Regions from separate parts of the Homo sapiens genome. Here region 2 is linked to region 1. The links are contacts of gene promoters, found by promoter capture Hi-C in blood cells and fetal thymus (Javierre and others, 2016). All regions are on one chromosome and are shown on one strand. Each heading gives the region's core, a stretch centred on a gene start or on the middle of the fragment in contact. The rest is flanking DNA. Distances are from core to core; before and after follow the strand shown. Region 1 holds the start of TRMT2B (tRNA methyltransferase 2B). Region 2 holds the start of XKRX (XK related X-linked).

What was found. Contacts are between HindIII fragments. The CHiCAGO score rates a contact against its expected background, and 5 or more counts as called.
Region 2: a contact is called between the fragment with the promoter of XKRX here and the fragment with the promoter of TRMT2B in region 1, in 5 of 17 cell types (total B cells, naive CD8 T cells, endothelial precursors and 2 more). The highest score is 5.8, in total B cells.

Annotation. Positions count from the first base shown.
Region 1 is chrX:101,050,677-101,057,479 of GRCh38, reverse strand. TRMT2B (tRNA methyltransferase 2B) reads left to right here and starts at 5,369. Exons shown (of 14, transcript NM_024917.6): 1 at 5,369-5,663; 2 at 5,747-6,229. The HindIII fragment of the contact is 12,653 bases long and covers 3,577-6,803 here.
Region 2 is chrX:100,925,564-100,931,859 of GRCh38, reverse strand. XKRX (XK related X-linked) reads left to right here and starts at 2,943. Exons shown (of 3, transcript NM_212559.3): 1 at 2,943-3,890. The coding sequence starts at 3,556. RefSeq lists enhancers at 2,297-2,346, 3,540-4,739. The HindIII fragment of the contact is 22,335 bases long and covers 1-6,296 here.

The DNA of each region.
Region 1 (6,803 bases), core at 4,120-6,619:
ACATCTTATGAAAAAAAAAAAACCCAAAAACTCTTCATTAGCTTCCTATTGTTACAGGAACTAGCTCAAACTCCTCATCCCAGCCCTCCAGACCCTTTGTTATTTTCCCTGACCTGTCTATCTGATCAGCCAATGGCCAATGGCTTAAGCACCAAACTCTTATCTAGCCAGGTCTGCCTCCTCATGGGCCTTGTACAATTATTACTCATTTCCTCTTTTCATGCTGCAGTCCCAGTTCCTCTCAGATTATTCATATCCTATGCATTCAACTCAATTATCACATTCTTTTCCTTCCTTTGGTACCAAGATGGTGGCTGTTTTCTGAGACTTACCAAAGCCCCAATAGTTGTGTATTCTCACACTGAGTATTATCTTCCTATCAGGTCATACAATCTTTGAGGGTGTGGTCTGTGAATCTATCCCTCATAGCATATAGCACAGTCCTAGGTGCACCAAAGAACTTGTTTAATGGAACCAAACCAGCCCTAAATGCCAACTAATTTTTGTAAGAGTTAAAGAAAGAGGAAAGAAACATGAAAAGTGGCTCAACAGACAAAGACAGGTTTATTTTGGATAATCAACCGGAGAGGGTCTTCTGGCCGATTTTGGTCAGGAGTGCTCTCTCTTACAGACTAAGAGTATTTATTGGTTTTAGGGTGAGGGAGCTTATTACAGGCTTGGAATGTTACTGTGGTGGGGAGAAGTTTATTGCAGGGTTGGAATGTCTCTGGTTGGAGGGGAGGTTACTTGGGGCTGGCATGTCTCTGGTTGGGGAGGGGTTTATCTTATGGTTGGAATGTTTCTGGTTGGAGATGTCATTTACGGTTTATGGTCATGTTGACCTTAGCCATTAGGCTGATGCCCTTTGGATTTAGGTGTTTTTTTGTTTGTTTGTTTGTTTTTGTTTTTGTTTTGAGAGGGACTTTCGTTATTGTTGCCCAGGCAGGAGTGCAATGACGCGATCTCAGCCTACTGCAACCTCTGCCTCCTGCGTTCAAGCAATTCTTGGCCAGGTGCGGTGGATCATGCCTGTGATCCTAGCACTTTGGGAGGCCGAGGTGAGTGGATCGCCTGAGGTCAGAAGTTCAAGACCAGCCTGGCCAGCATGGCAAAACCCTGTCTCTACTAAAAATACAAAAAATTAGCCAGGTGTGGTGGCAGGTCCCTGTAATCCCAGCTACTTGGGAGGATGAAGCAGGAGAATTGCTTGAACCCAGGAGGCGGAGGTTGCAGTGAGCTGAATTCACACCATTGCACTCCAGCCTGGGCAACAAGAGTGAAACTCCATCTCAAAAAAAAAAAAAAAAAAAAAAAAAAAGGAAAAGAAAAGAAAAAAAGAAGAAAAAAAAGCAATTCTCCTGTTTCAGCTCCTGAATAGCGGGGATTACAGGCATGCACCACCACGCCCAGCTACTTTTTGTATTTTTAGTAGAGACGGGGTTTCACCATGTTGGCCAGGCTGGTCTTGAACTCCTGACCTCAGGTGATACTGCCCGCCTCAGCCTCCCAAAGTGCTGGGATTACAGGCATGAGCCTCCTTACCCGGCCTTAGGTGGTTTTTGATCAAGGAGAACTTTAGAATTGTGGTGCTTGTCCAAGATGGCGATGCTCCTGCTTGGTAAATTTTAATATGTTATTTCTGAGAGCGAATGCTGTAGCCTCTCAGCTATCTTTTCCTTGCACCAAAATGAGAATGTTTGACAAATTCCTAGGGATTTCACTTTGTTGTGATTTGGTTTGCTAATAACAAAATTAAGTAAAAGGTTATCTTGGTTCCAGCTCTTATTTGAGTTAACAATATTCCTTATCATCTATGACATATCCACTTACTGACTTTCTGGTTGAAGGGTCTAACCTTTCCTATAATACGGGGTATTTCTTTCCCCTCTTACAAATGTAATGATTTCGCTTTTATAGTAGAATATGCTTTACCAGATTAAATAAATATAAAGGGGTTAATGGCTAAATAATTACATTATAGCTGCTTTAATCTCTTTTCTCTCTCTACCCCTCAGGGTTTTCCTCCTTGAATGACAGGCCTGCTTTAAATGAATTTGCCTGGATGCTCAAAATAGGTGGGGGTGAGGGAGGAAATGCCTTCTCTCTTTCAGCAGACAAGATGGAATTCAGTTTAATTAATCAAATATTAATATTTATTGAGCTCGTATGGGACACCTGATTCTGTGCTAGGCACAACACAGAAGGCCAAAACGAGAAGTGATAAAGGAGCAGAAGGGCTTGGGAAGGGGAAGAAAGGGGAAGAGGAGGTGATAAAAGGTGTAGAGCTGTCTAGCCATATAAGAGGGGATTAAAAGATGAGAAAGGGAAAATAGAGCCAAAGGTAAATTCTCTGGCCTGGTCTCACTTGATAGCCCTGCATGGGCCTAGAAGGCTGAAGCAGTGGTTTGAGTTCAAATTTTGCTTATGAGCCATGAGAGCAGTTAGGATAGTGGCAATTTGAGTCAAACATTTACCTCCTCAAGGGTTTAGGATGGAAGTGAAATCTCTCTTTAAAAAACAAGAAACATACACGTGTGTGTTTGTGTGTGTGTGTGTGTGTGTGTGTGTGTGTGTGTGTGTTGTGGGGGCCAAAGTCATTGGCCCCTGAAGGTTCACTAAAATATCACTGATATGAGGCTGATTCATAGGAGAAAAGGCATACAAATTTATTTAACATGTACACATGGGAGCCTTCATCATGGAGACCCAACCTCCCAATAATTAACAGAAGCTTATATATCATCTTGAAATTACAGAAAGAGACCAGGCGTGGCTCATGCCTGTAATCCCAGCACTTTGGGAGGCCGAGGCGGGCAGATCACGAGGTCAAGAGATCGAGACCATCCTGGCCAACATGTTGAAACCCCGTCTCTACTAAAAATACAAAAATTAGCTGGGCGTGGTGGTGCAAGCCTGTAGTCCAGCTACTAGGGAGGCTGAGGCAGGAGAATCGCTCGAACCCGGGAGGCAGAGGTTGCAGTGAGCCGAGATCGCGCCACTGCACTCCAGCCTGGGTGACAGAGCGAGACTCCATCTCAAAAAAAAAAAAAGCCGGGCGTGGTGGCTCACGGCTGTAATCCCAGGACTTTTGGAAGCCGAGGCGGGTGGATCACGAGGTTGGGAGATCAAGACCATCCTGGCTAACACGGTGAAACGCCGTCACTACTAAAAATACAAAAAATTAGCCAGGCGTGGTGGCGGGCGCCTGTAGTCCCAGCTACTTGGGAGGCTGAGGCAGGAGAATGGCATGAACCCGGGAGGCGGAGCTTGCAACAGTGAGCCGAGATCGCGCCACTGCACTCCAGCCTGGGTGACAGAGCGAGACTCCACCTCAAAAAAAAAAAGTAAGAAATTACAGAAAGAATGTGGACGAACTCAGAGTATATACAAAAACAGGTTTTAGTGGCAAGATAGGTTATGGAAGAAAGGAAGAGACTTGGTTTGTGAAGGTGGCCTTGTCATGTAGAGGAAGCCTCCTTCCGAAAGAATAGCTGGTAAATGCTTCTTTTCAAACTTTTAAAGATGTCAGACTCTCAATCTCTCCTGGATCCAGGTAAGGCATAGAAATGGGAAGCTTGGCTGTATTCAAGGAGGTTCTCTACAGATGCAAATTTCCCCCATCTCAGTCCTCTGGTCCTGAGGCAGCCATTTCAAACATATGGCAAATACATTTATTTTGGGGTAAAATATTTTTATTTTCTTCAGAATGTATGAACACACAGTATATCAACTTATTTTGAATGATAATAGCTAACTTTGTGTACTTACTGTATTCTAAGCACTTTGTGTGTATTAACTCATTTAATCGTTGTCACAACCGTATGAGGTAGGTAAAATTATTGTGGACATTTTTTTTCAGATGATGAAACTGAAGCACTGAGTAATTAAATAACTTGCTCAGTGGACACAGCTTATCAGTGGCAGATCTGCTGGGGGTGGTGGCTTATGCCTGTAATCCCAGCACTTTGGGAGGCCGAGGCAGGCGGATCACCTGAGGTCAGGAGATCGAGACCAGCCTGACCGACGTGGTGAAACTCCATCTCTACTAAAAATACAAAAATTAGCTGGGCGTGATGGTGCACTCCTGTAATCCCAGCTACTCGGGAGGCTGAGGCAGGAGAATCGCTTGAACCTGGGAGGCGGAGGTTGCGGTGAGCCGAGATCACACCATTGCACTCTAGCCTGGGCAACAAGAGCAAAACTCTGTCTCAAAAAACAGAAAAATAGAAAATAAGTGGCAGATCTGGGCTTTGAATCCTATTCTGACTGACTCAATGTTTGCTGCTATTTGAAGTATTGGGCCTTGTTTAATTTACTACTGTACTCACTAAGGCTAACACATTGCCTTGCACATAATAGGCATGTTATGCTTTGAATAAATATTAATACATGAAATGTTGACTACAAAGTGTTTTCCACTTGAGCACAATTACTATTAAGCATAAAAATTAAATATCATTAAATGTACGTTCACTATTTTTTTTTTTTGAAACGGAGTTTCACTCTTTTTGCCCAGGCTGGAATGCAATGGCATGATCTCAGCTCACTGCAACCTCCACCACCTGGGTTCGAGTGACTCTCCTGCCTCAGCCTCCTGAGCAGCTGGGATTACAGGCGTGCGCCACCACGCCTAGCTAATTTTTGTATTTTTAGTAGAGATGGGGTTTCACCATGTTGGTCAGGCTGGTCTCGAACCCCTGACCTCAGGTGATCCTTCCGCCTCGGCCTCCCAAACTGCTGGGATTACAGGCGTGAGCCACTGCACCCACCTCGGTAGGTTCACTTTGCTGTAAATTTTACTCTATTAAAGCAACAATATTTTACAGCACACAGATGTGTGTATACTTCAAGTTTTCTTACTCGTGGCTGGGCTAATGACTCCTCTAAAAATTAGAGGTATTACTGAATGTAGTCCAGGAGGTAGTGAATCAACCAAAAAGAGACATCTGTCCTCTTTTTGAGTTCTGTAGTTGAAGAAAAAGATTATTTCTGAGGGTTTAGGATTTAATAGTCTTGAGTGGGATCCAGTGAAGAAACTATAAAGTATTTTTCTGATGCAGTGTTAAAAGAGAATGAATGCTTGAGAAACCCCACGGCCCAGAATAGATCTGGCTTTTACCAAAGGATGCCATTTCACGGAACCACCCTGTTTCTCATCTCCCAATCTTCCAACCCGTTAGGGATCTGATGTCTGCAATTCTATCATGAGAAAACTATTCCTTGAGTTGGAAGACTTAAACTGCAAGCACCCCTGGGATGGCTAACGCAGTTAACACTGCAGTGTGAACGTCTTCGTGAGTCTCTTATGTAGATCCACCAATGGGACGGTGAGGAAAGAGCAGGTGGTGGGCGGGGCCCCGGGGAGGGGAGGAGAGGAGAACTTAGAGAAGGAAGGCGGCGGGTGTCAGGGCTATGAGTGCTTTTAAGGAAGGTCTCCATAGAAGGTTCCCCCAGCAAAGTAGGGAGGGGTACTCCCCGAGAGGAGTCGAGGTGCCGGAGCCTGCTGCCTCGCCGACGCTGGGAGGAGCCCCGTGTCCCGCCGCGCTTGCCAAGGGTTGGCTGCGCGTGCGGCGGGAGTAGAGGCGCCTTGCGCACCAGGAAGTGACTGTTTCCCCGCCGCAGCAAACCAGGCCATCCGCTGGCCTTTTAGTTTGCCGCCTCAGGTTTGTAAGAGGATTTATTGGTTACGAAGGAAGGTAAGGTGGATAAATAGCCCGGAAAACCTGATTTAACCCTTGCTTTACAGAAAACTCCCTACTATGCCAAACTGTCCGCGGGGCGGGGAATGGAGGAGGCAGGCGGGGCTGGAGACGGGACCCGACGGTGACTGCGCAAGGTCGTGTACGGCCCAGCGTGGGCCTGTGCCCTAACTCCTCCCACTCCCTTACTTTCTGTCCTTCCCGGGCCCTGCAGACCGGCCAAGTTTAGTGGTAGCCTTTCCTAGTGTCTCCTCTTTGTTAACCCTTCCTACAGACACAGTGGGCAGAACTTGCCTAAAGAAGAAGGGAATGGAAGGGCTAGTGGAGTCTTGTTGGGGAGACAAGGACCTGACTGCCTGTGGGCTGCATTCGGGACACGACACAGCAGTCAACCCATTTGCTTGTTTGGTTTAGCAAGGAATAGTGTCTGGAGCCGGTCCAGCTGAAGGAAGGGTGAGCAGAGAGTGCAAGCAGGACCCTTGTCGGTGGGTGAACATTTTGCTCCAAAAGGGATCCTTGGCCCTGCGCAGGTGAGACCTACCACATAGTCTCTTTGATTTGAACCTCTCTGAGCACAGGAGAGTTAGCCTGCCTTCCTATTTGGGCTACTCTGGACTCCAGGACTCTTCCTGATCAATTCCTGAGGCAGGTATAGAACAGTCGAGCACGACTGCTCACACGCTTTTTTTTTTTTTTGCTGAGGAAAAAACTCCCAAGCATTTTTATTTTTTATTTGTTTGAGACGGAGTCTAGCTTTGTCACCCAGGCTGGAGTGCAGTGGTGCGATCTCGGCTCACTGCAACCTCCGCCTCCCGGGTTCAAGTGATTCTCCTGCCTCAGCCTCTGGAGTAGCTAGGATTACAGGCGCCTGCCACCACGCCCAGCTAATTTTTGTATTTTTAGTAGAGACTGGGTTTCACTCTGTTGGTCAGGCTGCTCTCGAACTCCTGACCTTGTGATCCGGCTGCCTCGGCCTCCCAAAGTGCTGGGATTACAAGCGAGAGCCACCGAGCCTGGCCCCCAAGCATTTATTTTTTATTTTTTATTTTTATTTTTGAGACAGAGTTTCACTCTTGTTGCCCAGGCTGGAGTGCAATGGTGTGA
Region 2 (6,296 bases), core at 1,694-4,193, 120 kb after region 1:
GACAGTGCTCATTCAGCCAGAGGAGTTTATGCCCCAGCTACAGTGGCCACAGCTTTTAGAGATGAGTGTGTCTGAGTCTTGCATGGTTTCAAGGAGGAAGTATGGGGGAGGAAGCGTCATCATCATCACCATTTGTCAATCACCATTGTCATCAACAAGTGCCACAATAAACAGTCATTGAGCATCCTTCCCTCACTAACTTTACATTTTTGGGGGGAGGCAGGACAAACACAGAAATAGTTGAAGGACTAGTATGAGAGAGCATGTGCCAGTAGCATGAAGAGAGAAAAATGAGGGTTGGGGAGGTGACAGAAGGCTTCTTGGAGGTGGGAGCACTTCGGCTGACCCTTGAAAGAAAGTTATGGTTTGGACTAATGGAGAAAAGGGTGAAGGGGGTTGTAAATCGCATCAACAAGGCAGAGGTGGGAGTGAGCAACGCAAATAGGAGAAGTGAGAAAACTGGCTGGCCTTGTGGAAGGAGTAGTGTGGGCAATAAAATCTGAGAGGGAAGTAGTGTGATGATTATATAGAGCCTTGAATGACAGACAGAAGGAGTCATTTTGGAACAAAGTAGGAAGGCATTGTAAATTTTTGTATTTGGGGAGAGACAAGGCCATGGAGAAGAAGGAGGAAAGGCTAAAAGGTAAACGTTGGGATTCTACATTCTTCTTCTTAGCTTTACTCTCCCATGTTTTTTTTTTTTTTTATTTTTAATTTTTATTTTTTTGAGATGGAGTTTCACTCTTGTCACCCAGGCTGGAGTGCAATGGTGCTATCTTGGCTCACTGCAACTTCTGCCTCCTGGGTTCAAGGGGTTGTCCTGCCTCAGCCTCCCGAGTAGCTGGGATTACAGGTGCCCACCACCACGCCCAGCTAATTTTTGAATTTTTAGTAGAGACAGGATTTCACCATGTTGGTCAGGCTGGTCTCAAACTCCTGATCTCAGGCCATTCACCCACCTTGGCCTCCCGAAATGCTGGGATTACAGGCATGAGCTACCGCGCCCGGCTGACTCTCTCATGTTTAGGGGGACCAACTCACCCTATCCCAGTGAAATGGGATTAATTGGTCACCTTGCCTGAGATTCACCTTGTGAACAGTTACCTAGAGCAGCCCCAAGAGGTTCTGCACCATATACTGGTGGTGGAGAACCTTGTCCCAGTTGGAATGTCCCAACTAATAAGAAAAAGAACACTCTCTGAAGTTGTTCTCAATAGTGTTGACCTCCTTCATGAAATGGAAAGGAGAAAGGAGCAGCCTCCTAGCCCAGCTGCTAGCATAGGTGCAGACCAAGATGCGGAGTCTGCTTCAGAAGGTGACAACCTTTAGATGTTGAATCTGTCCCTGAATCAGCCCTGGGGAAAGGAGGCAGCAATCATGGAAACCTTAAAAAAACAAAAAACAACATAATGACAGGACAACCTGGAGGCCATTATTTTGGTGGCTGCTACTTGGCCACTCCTCACATAGATTTGTTTTACTGACTTCCTGCAGCAAAAGGAGATTGGCACAGGCTCTGCTACATAATCATCATTATTATTATTATTATTATTATTATTATTATTATTATTAAGACGTAATCTTGCTCTGTTGCCCAGGCTGGAGTGCAGTGGCGTGATCTCAGCTCACTGCAACCTCTGCCGTCCGGGTTCAAGTTTTTCTCCTGCCTCAGCCTCCTGAGTAGCTGGGATTACAGTCACGCACCACCACGACCAGCTGATTTTTGTATTTTTAGTAGAGATGGGGTTTCACCACGTTGGCCAGGCTGGTTTCGAACTCCTGACCTCAAGTGATCTGCCTGCCTCAGCCTCCCAAAGTGCTGGGATTACAGGCGTGAACCACTGTGCCTGGCCTTCATCTATATTATTACCAGGAGGCAGATGTGTTCTCTTTTTCTCTGAGGTTTAGAATTATGCAAATGAAGATATGAAAACAAAAGCTCAGTGAGGTGGGGAGGATTACACTTAAGAATACAGGTAATTTTCAAAGCTCTTTAAGACACCCCTCTCAGTTTTTACTAACAGCTCTCTCTTGGCTCTTTGCCAGTCTGTTTAGAATTTGGCACCTCTTCATAACCTTTCAACCAAAGACCTGTAAGTTCATTCTAAAGCTCCTATCCTGGCCTCATTTTGCAAGTGGAGAAATCAAGGCATAAAATATGAGCTTTCAGTGTCTGTGGGCTGACCTTGAGTCTTGACCTTTATCCTGTTCTATCTTCCCTCCGCCGAAAACTCTGACCCTATTCCTCCCAGGTTCCCCCTTCATGATATTATCTGGAGGGCAATAGGACCTAGGGAGGTTCCACCCTGCGGCGGAGGGAGACACACCTGCCTAACAGCGTGGGTAGAGTGAGTGTTGAAGCAAGTCACTTAACTAGTTAGGGAGGGCGGGGTAGAAGTGGGGGCCTGCTGCTCCTAGGGAGGAGTAAAGCTGTGGCTCCTGCCTGGGTCTGGAGGTGGTGGTCAGAAGTGCTTCTGAAGAGCGGCCCAAGCCCCTTTTTGTCCCGCCACTCCACAACGAGCATCCCTCGGCTGGCCGCCTGCCCGGGAACTCTCCGGCTGGTTTTGTTTGGCCGCAGCCGTCCCGCCCATCTCGCCCGCCCCCGCCGTCCCGGTGCCTTAGTTTTTGAAGCTGCCGACCTCTCGCAGCTGGAATCGCAGACCAGGCAGGACCCTGGCAGCAGACGGCGTCCAAGAGTTTGGCGACCTCCGTCCAGCCAGGTTGGCGCCCCGCACATCGTGCCTCTCACTAGCAAAGTTTCTCCGAGGAGAAGCAGCCCCTCCAGCCTTTTCTTCATCCTGTAGAGCGAGCGCGCTCTGCTTCTGTCCCTCAACACTGCATTCGGAGACAGGGTGGTGACAATACTCCACTCCCGGGCCAGGCGGTCTTGGGGGCGGGGCTTGGGGGAATCCGAGGAGCTATCCTGAGAACCCTGGACTCGGCAAAGGTCCTGAGAGCGCGCAGGTGAGCGGGCCAGCTGATAGCTACAGCCTAGCAATAGCTAGGATACCTAGGCACTGAACTGAATCCCCTCTTCTGCCCTCCTTCTTCTGCGCCCGCTCTTCTGCCCTGGCTCAGCTCTCCGCTGACTTGAGAGGACACACTGGTCAGGACTCTTTGTGAGGAGCTGCTGAGTGTCGGTGCCCCCGACAGATCGGCTACACCCTGCCTGAGGGGCTGCGAAAGGAGCCGCCACGGAAGCCGCTGTTCTCATGACTCTTCACGTCCCTGGAGTTGGACTCTGGATGGGGCGCTGGGATGCTTGCTTTTGTCTTGTTCAAGTTTCACAGCAAGTATGTTGACGATTGGAATCGGGGCCAATCAAGAGTCAAGTTCAAAGTGGTACTCCTGGGCTTTCCATCCCAGACTCCAAGTCGAATCTGAGTCTAGAAGAGAGCGGTTTCTTGCTCTAACTAGTGAATCTCTGTTCCCAAACTGGACTTGACAGAGCTCTCCTCACCTATACTTGGACTGTAGCGGCCATAGGGTTCTCTTGGGGATGGGTGGGAGGGTGCTATGAACACAAGACCACAACATTCAGAAAGAACCTCGACAATGGACAGAGTTTATGAAATTCCTGAGGAGCCAAATGTGGATCCGGTTTCATCTCTGGAGGAAGATGTCATCCGTGGAGCCAACCCCCGATTTACTTTTCCATTTAGCATCCTTTTCTCCACCTTTTTGTACTGTGGGGAGGCTGCATCTGCTTTGTACATGGTTAGAATCTATCGAAAGAATAGTGAAACTTACTGGATGACATACACCTTTTCTTTCTTTATGTTTTCATCCATTATGGTCCAGTTGACCCTCATTTTTGTCCACAGAGATCTAGCCAAAGATAAACCGCTATCATTATTTATGCATCTAATCCTCTTGGGACCTGTTATCAGGTGAGCAACTTTTAAATCTTTTCCTTACCCCCCTAACCCCACCCCAGACTTGGGCAGAGAAAGATGAAAGATTTACAAGATGGATACTATGGCTCTAATCAATTCTCTCATTTCCTCCCACTCTCGGCTTCCCTGTCTACCATTCAGAAAACTTACCTGAAATCTTAAATGCCACCATGATGAACATGTGGTATGTACTTGTGTTCCAAAACAATGAACGATGCTATTTGGCCTGTGTAAACTAGAATGGGAACAACAAGACGTGATCACCCTGTGCATGAAGGCCATAGCTGCAGAGTGTGTAATTTTATTTAAAAAATTTTTTTTTTCTGAGACAAGGTCTTGCTCTGCCTCCCAGGCTACAGTGCAGTGGTGCGATCATGGCTCACTGCAGCCTTGATCTCCTGGGATCAAGCGAACCTCCCACCTCAGCCTCCAAGTAGCTGGGACCAAAGGAATGTGTCACCATGCCTGGTTAATTAAAAAAAAATTTTTATAGGCCGGGTGTGGTGGCTCATGCCTGTAATCCCAGCACTTTGGGAGGCTGAGGCGGGTGGATCACCTGAGGTCAGGAGTTCAAGACCAGCTGGCCAACATGGTGAAACCCCTGTCTCTACTAAAAATCAGCTGGGTGTGGTGGCGCATATCTGTAATCCCAGCTACTCTGGTGGCTGAGGCAGGAGAATCACTTGAACCCGGAAGGTAGAGGTTGCAGTGAGCCAAGATCGGTGCCACTGCACTCCAGCCTGGGCGATAGAGTGAGACTCCATCTCAAAAAAAAAAAAATTTTTTTTGTAGAGACGGGATCTCGTTATGTAGACTGGGCTCAAGTGATCTTCCTGCCTCAGCCTCCCAAAGTGAGCCACCGCGCCTGGTCTGAGTGTGTAATTTTGACTCTACCTTTTGGATGCTTTGTAAATTGGATAAAAGTTTCTTTACCCTGAGCTGCTTGGGCTGGTGCTACTGCCATTTTCAAATTTTCCAGAGTAATGTGACATCTGGAAACTATTTTAAACCATCTGTGGTAATCTGTACCCCAACCCAATATAGTTCAGTTCTCTGTCGGTTTATCAGTTTCCTATTTATCTCTTTGTATATTTCTGCAATAAAGATACGAAGTTGGGAGGGGGCAAAGGAAGGCAGTTCATCTCTCTATGTGGATGCAGTAGCACAATTTAATAGTATCAAGTATTTCCATTCAGATTGCCTTGAAGTGGAAAGAATGCACTTAATCCTAGCGAGATAGGCACCTGTGTCAACAGTCTCATCTGGATGCTATGGGGTTTTCAAGGTAGAGAGATGTTGCAAAACTTATGAGTTCAGGAGTAAGGAATGGACCAAGTTTGTCTTGATTGCAAGAGAGGCAGACAACTGCAGTCAGCCGAGGAATATGGGTCAGAGTGTTGCAATGGGAAGATACCTCATCATTAGACAACTAAAAAGTCTGTGAAACTAATTAAGGATGGAACTCACTCCTTTATAAAATTTCATATCTGTACACATGTATAATTTTTATTTGTCACTTATACCTCAATAAGGCCAAAAAAATTTTTTATCAATAAATTTTTAAGTGGGGAGGAATCGATTAGGCTCTATCAGAGAGAATATGGGATATCAATGGAAACAGTGGCCTGAAATTTGGAGTCTAGTCTTCCCCCTGTCATTGACTGGTTGTGTGTTCTTGGTAAAATCTCTGAAGATGGCTTCACAGGAAGGCATATAGAGTTCCCTCATCTGTAAAGCAAATGGGTTAGTCTAAATCATGGGTCTCAAACTCAAACACTTGCAGGGACCAGGCAGGTATCATAAATGAATGAAGCAGGCCTAGTATAAGAAAAAACAGTAGCCTTGTGTGAGATGATAAATGAAAACAAAGTCTCAGAGAAATACTGAGGAGTAGTGAGTACCATGGTAATCTGAAATCTTCATGACCTGCCTGAAGGAGGTAGCCCCTCTAGAGCCCTGGCGCATTGTTTCCATGTTGGAATTCAGACCCAGTATTGCCAGATCCACTAACTTTTCGGGAGATGCTCCCAAGACAGGATTTTTATATGAAATGTCATGATTTTAAATTTTCACAGCTGACTAAAACAATAACAACAACAACACAGGATGGACCAAACCATATCTGTTGGTCAGATATAACTCAGCTGGCCTATATGCATCTTTGGACTGGGTGATGTAAAGGTCCTTTACGGTTCTAAATCTTTGAAGTTAAGCTGTAAAAGGAAGACCTCATCTTGACCTTGAAACCAAGAAATTTAAAGTTGTGACTACAGGAGCAAATAAACCATTCATCCCTCCTTTTTCAAATACAATATATTGAGTTAACCAATCGAAAACTCTCAAGATACAAATTTCAGAAAGTACCCAGCTGCACCCTCCCCTCTTTTTGACTTCCTTTGT